2 separate regions of the Homo sapiens genome follow, and region 2 is linked to region 1. The links are contacts of gene promoters, found by promoter capture Hi-C in human tissues and cell types (Jung and others, 2019). All regions are on one chromosome and are shown on one strand. Each heading gives the region's core, a stretch centred on a gene start or on the middle of the fragment in contact. The rest is flanking DNA. Distances are from core to core; before and after follow the strand shown.

Evidence for each region. Contacts are between HindIII fragments. The study calls those that stand out against the background at their distance.
Region 2: a contact is called between a fragment that was not itself captured here and the fragment with the promoter of SCEL in region 1, in 1 of the 25 tissues and cell types used here (lymphoblastoid cells).

The regions. Positions count from the first base shown.
Region 1 is chr13:77,534,320-77,538,131 of GRCh38, forward strand. It overlaps SCEL (sciellin), which reads left to right and starts at 1,387. Exons shown (of 33, transcript NM_144777.3): 1 at 1,387-1,505. The HindIII fragment of the contact is 8,761 bases long and covers 1-3,812 here.
Region 2 is chr13:77,005,659-77,009,171 of GRCh38, forward strand. FBXL3 (F-box and leucine rich repeat protein 3) reads right to left here. Exons shown (of 5, transcript NM_012158.4): 5 at 1-2,130. The coding sequence ends at 1,487. Among named protein-coding and RNA genes, the nearest start is that of CLN5, 15 kb to the left of the region's middle. The HindIII fragment of the contact is 6,150 bases long and covers 1-3,513 here.

The sequences.
Region 1 (3,812 bases), core at 137-2,636:
TGTCACCCATACTGGAATGCGGTGGTGTGATCACAGCTCACTGTGGCTTGGTCCTCCCATGCTCAAGAGACTCTCTTTGCCTCAGCCTCCTGAGTAACTGGGACCAAAGACATGCACTACCACACCCAGCTGATTTTTTTATTTTTAGTAGAGATGAGATCTTCTCTTACTGTGTTGCCCAGTTTGTCTCGAACTTCTTGGCTCAAGTGATCCTCCCACCTTGGCCTCCCAAAGTGCAAGTGAAAGCCACTGCAACTGGCCAGAAGCAGCCTTTGATGTTGGGTCTACTGCTGCCCTCAGCATTGAAAGAAGTTTCAACCATCCTTTTCACATTTTTTTTTTTTTTCTGAGACAGTCTCACTCTGTTGCCTAGGCTAGAGTGCAGTGGTGTGATCTTGGCTCACTGTAACCTCCACTTCCCTGGTTCAAGTGATTCTCCTGCCTCCTCCTGCCAGAGTGGATGAATGGTTCTTCTTCTTCTTGACCATCTAATCATTGTCCACTCAGACTTTAAAACTCTGCATCAACATCACCTTCCAGGTTCTTCCTTCTCTCCACTATGCGATGCCTGGCATTGAAAATTTCTGTATATGACTTTATCATGGTGTGTTATAGTTATTTAATATAGCTGGGGTTACAGGTGTGTGCCATCACGCCCAGCTAATTTTTATATTTTTAGTAGAGATCAGGTTTTACCATGTTGGCCAGGCTGATCTTGAACTGCTGACCTCAGGTGATCCGCCTGCTTCCACCGCCCAAAGTCCTGGGATTACAGATGTGAGCCACCACGCCTGGCCCCTTTTCACATTTTTTTATACATGGATAAATAAGATAGAGATTAGAATTCTTACATGCTAGGTGTATTTTCCCTCTGATAGTTTTACAAAATAGTCTAGGTGTAGAATGTGTGGAACAGACTTCTTTTGTGTTTTCTAATCCTAGGGTTCCTGGGTTTCTGAGAATTTGTTTGTCTTGAAGATTCCTTTAAGCCATATACTCCTTGCATGCTTGTCTGTGCCCCTGCCTTCCAGGTACTATGGGTGTATGGGGGTTCCTTCTATCTTGAGTTTTCAATTTTATTTTTTGAAAGAGAATACAAAATAGGTTGGGTCCTATGCCACCTTGTCAGTGATATGGTTGTGCATACTGTTGATATCAGTTAAAAGGGTGATCACAGGAGCATATATATATATATGTTTTTTTTTTTTTTGCATAAGGCCATAAGTTAAACAAAGAATTCAAACAAAGACAGTAGGTATATGAGTGAGAATGCTTTAATTGAACTGGTATTTGTACAAGGTGACACCCTGTTGCATACCACACACCTCCTCCCTGAGTGACTCAGCCGCTGAGCAAGAAACCTCTGAACTGTTCACTAATACAGTCAGGTAGAGGTTGAGACTCCACTGAATAAACTCTAGGTTCCCATTTCTTTCAGCCAGATCCTCCCAGGGAATCACTACAGGCTGGTTAGCCAAAAAGTCCTGATTTTCTGCTCAATAGAGGTAAGTTGAATTATACTTGCAAACAGAAATACATCTGCTGTATGTGCACAGCTTTCTCTGTGTTCCTTACAAATGATTAAAATTAGAACTTACTGTATTATCTTTGTCTTTTCTTCCTGTAAATTTTGACAGCCTCCAGCTGGCTGTTAGCTCTGCTCTTCCTTGCTGTACTTTTAGGTCACATTGCATTGAACTTCTTGGCAATTTTACACGTTATGGGCATCACAGAAACGAGCACCTATTTGATTTTCTGGGTGGGAGCTGTCAGCTGGTGAATCCTGCCACACAAAGGATAATAAATTCTTTAAGTGAAGGGACCAGCACCTGCTGGTTTATTTTCTCAAGCGACTATACAAACATTTTTTAAAGGATCTTTCTGTTTTCATAAATGATGCTTTTAGTGAAATAGTGAACTCAAATATTGCTTTATAGTTAATAAGTCATATTTATTTTTTTCTCTACTGCTAAAAATATTGCAAGTTGCTGAGCTATGAGAGAGAGAGAGGTTTATATTTATGAGGTTTTTGTCTCCACCCTATCTTCCCCAAATAAGAAAATCACCATTTCTCACTTGAAAGTACCAAGGAGTAAAGGCAGGGTGTGGGAGCAGAATAAGGGTACATGGTTCCTCACAGGGATCTGTGGGCATCTGGCCAACTTCTCTATGGTATATTCTGCATTCTAACCTAAGGAGTGATTAATGTATATGGGGGCAATTTTCAAACTTTATTCATAGCCTAGTCCTGAAAAACCAGTTTTGGGAGACTTTTGATAAGGCTAGAAGAGTTCTTTTAACAGAGCTTTCTTTTATAATTAATAGCTAAGCTGACTTGTGTTTTTTCTCATCATTTCTATTTATGATACAGAGCTGTGGGATTCAAATGCAGGGGCCACTCACAGCTTGCAAATTGCAGCTCTGTGTCCTCCAGAGAGGTGCCCCCACAGCATACCTGGCTCTATCTGTAGTACTTGAGTTCTCATGGCTTCCTATTGCTGACAAGGTCACCTGCAGTCTGAGAGGGGGTTAGACACACCAGTGCTCATTTCCCAAAGGTTTACAGAAGAATTTTACAACTTGGCTTTCAAGTGTTTATAGTAACCAGAAAACTAAAGTGTAGCAAGTGTGGATAATTTTATTTTTCATAAAATGTGATTACATTTAAAACTGTCTTTCACTTCCATAGTTTATAACGTAGATAAAGCCTTCCTAATATATGTGGTGCTCCAGTGTTTAAAGTATTGGAAACATCAATTTGAGAAAACTGAGAAATGACAACAGTAAAAATTTTAGTAAAACATTCAGATGATCCTAAATGTCGGGATATGCATAGAATGCCAACAACAGGCCAGAATTTTTATTGGAATGTTAGCGTCGTATAAATCTTAGATCTAATTGACAGAATATTTCAACTGAAACGGAGCATAGGCCCATCTAGTCTAATGCCTGAATTTTCTAGTTGAGAAAATCAAAGCATAAATGTTAAGCAACTTGTGAAGATCAGAGTAGCAGAACCAGAGCACGATGCCAGATTGCTTGTCTTTTGTCTTACTGAATTTTCTCAATATTTTTTCAAATGCTTTTTATCATAAAATATGTAGTAGCAATAAATGAGCCACACTCCATCACAGACTGTGGTTACCCAGCACATGTGGAAATATTATAGTGTGTATGGTATGACTAAGACATAATAGAATACGTTTTCCAACTTGTGGCTTATGGAATCAGTGTTGCCGTTTATTATATTTATGAGATTTTCATCTCAGGAGCCAGTAGCCCCTCAGCAGGGAGGGGATCTGATGTATGTGTGTTAGCTGTGGTCTGTACAATCAGAACACCCTTGCCTCGAATGCCATTCTGTAGGTGATGCTTACCTGACTGCCTTCTCAGACTACCAGAATTATGATGAAATACCTGAGAGGTTCATATTCCTGGGGACTATGTAAACAAAACAAATTTTGAATGACTGAGCTCATACTGTGGAATGAACTGAACACAATTCACGAAGCCGTCAAATTAAGCAAACATTGTTTAACTGAGAGTATCTTATACGGTTCAGGCATCAACTCCCAGCATTTCTTAAGAGTGAGGGGATAAAATCTTTGGCCTTGCAGTCCAAGGGAAATCTTTATTGGTTCCATATGGCTTCGCTTTCTGTCATTGTCCTGCTTCTAGACCATTTGTTGATCATTTTCCATTTTCTTTGGCTGGGTACTTTGAAATAAAGATTTTAGGTATTAATTGCTGCATACATAGCTGGAGTTGTTCAAAGCTCACTTCTGAATCAAAAGTCTTTTTTTTTTTTTTTT
Region 2 (3,513 bases), core at 101-2,600, 530 kb before region 1:
AATCACCTTTTGCTTTATTCTTAAGAAGGCCATCCGTTTTAAAAGTAGATCTAAGACTGTTAGCTTCCTCAACCACTGAGACACAATCTAAAAGTCACACCACTGAAAAGAGCCGCTTTAAGAATTAATGTATTCCACCGGGGTTAAATCATTTCTGATTTCCCTCAGGAGGGTAGTAATATCTACTAGCACTAGTGCCCAGCATCAAAGTTTATATCATCTTTTAAAACTCAACATTTTATAGACTCTACAATGCATGGATTACTTTTATTCATATGAAAGTAATATAAAATGTTACCTAACTTAAATAATATAAAATATCGGTTTAACCAAATTAACAATCACAAAACTGCAGACATTTTTCTATTAAAGTTTTCCAGTTCACTGAGCAATATTTACTGAAAAATATGATTATGAACTTAAATATGTCCTCTTTAAAATTTGCTGTTTATGCTAGACTGTACAATGGTGCTCCCTTTATGATTTTTAAAAATTTTACTTACATAACTATGTAATTCCAAAATAGAAAAGTGAGTGAGCCATCACTAAAATTTACTGGAAACTAATATTCTTTCATGGAAACAACTGATAAACATTTTAAAGTTCTATATTTATTTAAATTTGGCTTTTTAAAATAGGTAAGCTTTTCATTTCAATTATTGTTTAATACTTTAAAGCTAGTTTAAACAAAGATAAAACCAAGGAGAACTAGTAAAGCATTCCTTACTTTACATACAGTGCCTCAAGTGCCACATACATAATAACATATCACAAAAGAATGTATATGGTTTAGCAGATTACAGAGCAAACCTAAAAGTTTATACAAAGCTAAACACTGCCTCCCTTCTGTTCCATTTATTGTCTTTTAATTTGATCTTGGCTCTGTATTATCCTTCTATAATACCACTGTGTGACATCTATCAGTCTTCTAAGTGTTCTGATTACTTATATATACCTTTTTCTTTAAACAGCTTTGTAACATTTGAGAACATTCATCCAATCTTTTCCATTAGATATGATATATTCATTTTTCTCACAAAATGCTCACTTTCCTGAGCTATATTAAACACCTTATAACAGGTGTATGTGTAACTGAAGACCCTAAAATGTCAAGTTTACATTTTTTTTTAAATGCATAGAGAATATAACATTTCAGAAAACCTATTAGTACTTCTTGGATATTATAACATATAGGTTTTGTTTCCTTTAGACTGTAAACTGTTTAATACGTATAACTGGTTATTTCACATCCGAACCACATTAAAAAAAATTCGGAGATATGACTGCTATTACACTAAGGAAACAAGTGGAATTTTCTGACCAAAACTCATTCATGGGTCTTCCGATAAACAATCTTTACATATACTGACTGAAGATATCAAATTTCTGTGCCACAAAATAGTAGAATTATATCAGAACTACAGCAAATAAAACTTTAATTATAATACATTTGCTTGAAATTAAGGTGCTATTCATCATGCAGTTTTTACCAAGTGGGCATCATGTCGGGAAACCACACCCTACCAAGATGCTTGGACACTTCCCAGTGAATCTGCTCCAAACTATACTTTTGGTCAGGAATTAGTACTTCTTCCATAATGGATAATTGAGATAGGCGGCCACCACACATCTTCACAAACTCAACAAAGGCACTACATGAGACTTCACATTCCCCTAGTCCAATAGCTGACAAATTTTTGCAACGTTCTGCAATGCGAATTAACTCTTCATCAAGTGGCCGTAATCCATTTGCACACACTACTAGTTCAACCAGTCTAGGGCATGTCATTCCCACACGGCCAAGCACATCTTTGCTTACTGATCTCCCAAAGTACAGATGGGTGGCAGGTATTTCATAGCGAAAGAAGGGGTCAAATTCTTCTTCATATAAAAAAAAATACATCACTAAGTTCACTTTGGGTGAATGTCTGATGAAAGCATCCCAGCTACTCTTCTGAATAGTATGGAAGTGTGTCTGTCCAGGATTCTCACTGACTACATCAATGCGCAAATGTTCTAATCGAACATGTTTTTCAGAAGACAATGCAAGTAACAACTCATCACTCAATAAGTGGTAGTTCAGGGCTAGTTCTCTTAAGCCGTGACACTGATCAGCCACACAAAGGATACCTTGAAAGAAAAAAAAAATTATTTGCAAGTTTTTGTAAAAGTTTATCTGTTGAAAAATTCAATCAAGTACATGTCCCACAAAAGTTTGTCACAGTTCCCTTACCACAAAACTATATAATTTAAAATGTGCATAGTTGAATTAGAAGGGAAGTAACAAACATTTAAAATCTATTACTAATTTTGTCTACAAGAAAATGAAACCAATTCTAAATCCCATCTATTAAAAAGAAATAAAACTCAGTTAACTCTGTCATTTAAAAAATACACCATCACTAAGGTTAGGGCATTCCAGTAATGCACAGACAGTGCCATATTTTTAAAAAGTTATTACTAACACTAAACTTATAGGTTAGGTAATTACAGGACCACTGTGACGGAGGCCAAAGGACATTTTTTGAAGTTCAAAACCTAATCCTAATAAAAACAGAGTAAGATAGAACCATATAAAACTATGAATTAGGTAATGAAAGAAAACATTTACAAACTAAAGATTCTATCAAATGATCAAGTCTAATTGCTAATAGCATATAAGCAGCTTATTAAACTTATAAGAAAAAATACCAAGATATCACTAAGTATGTCAAAAATAACTACTCAATTCACATTAATGGAAATATTCATTATGACTTTCGAAGCTCTAACATACCTAGAAAGCAGTTCCCTTAGATGATTCCCTATACTTAGGGTGCCATGCTTTATAACTTACCAAAACTATCATCCTAGCAACAGATGACATTGCAAAGGTCAATGTTTGATCTCTCTGTAAGAGTTCTGTTTTTGTTTTCAGTCAGTCTCACCCTGTAGCCCAGGCTGGAGTGCAGTGGTGTGATCTCAGCTCACTGCAGCCTCTGCCTCCCGGGTTCAAGCAATTCTCTTGCCTCAGCCTCCTGAGTAGCTGGGACCACAGGCGTATGCCACCACGCCTGGCTAATTTTTGTATTTTTGCTGGAGACAGGGTTTCACCATGTTGGCCAGGATAGTATCGAACTCCGGACCTCAAGTGATCCACCCATCTTGGCCTCCCAAAGTGCTGGGATTACAGATGTGAGCCACTGCACCCGGCCTACTATAAGAATTCTACCCCAAAGAGGCACCTTATATTACCTGGTAAGTTACCCATTCAATCCATTTCTTCCTTATGTTTAGAAACAGGGATAGGAACAAGAAAACATACACCGTATTTTCATCTATTTATTGTTACAAGTATGATGTGCCAGGTACTAGATGTTATCCCACAAATAATTTTAAAAATCTGGAAAAGTATTATTTCTACTTTGAAGTGGAGACAGCTAGCTAAAAATAGCAAAGCTGCAATACAAACACAGGCTAAGTGACTCTTATGTCCATGCACTTAACTACTGCTTCAGAAATGACAAGACAGAG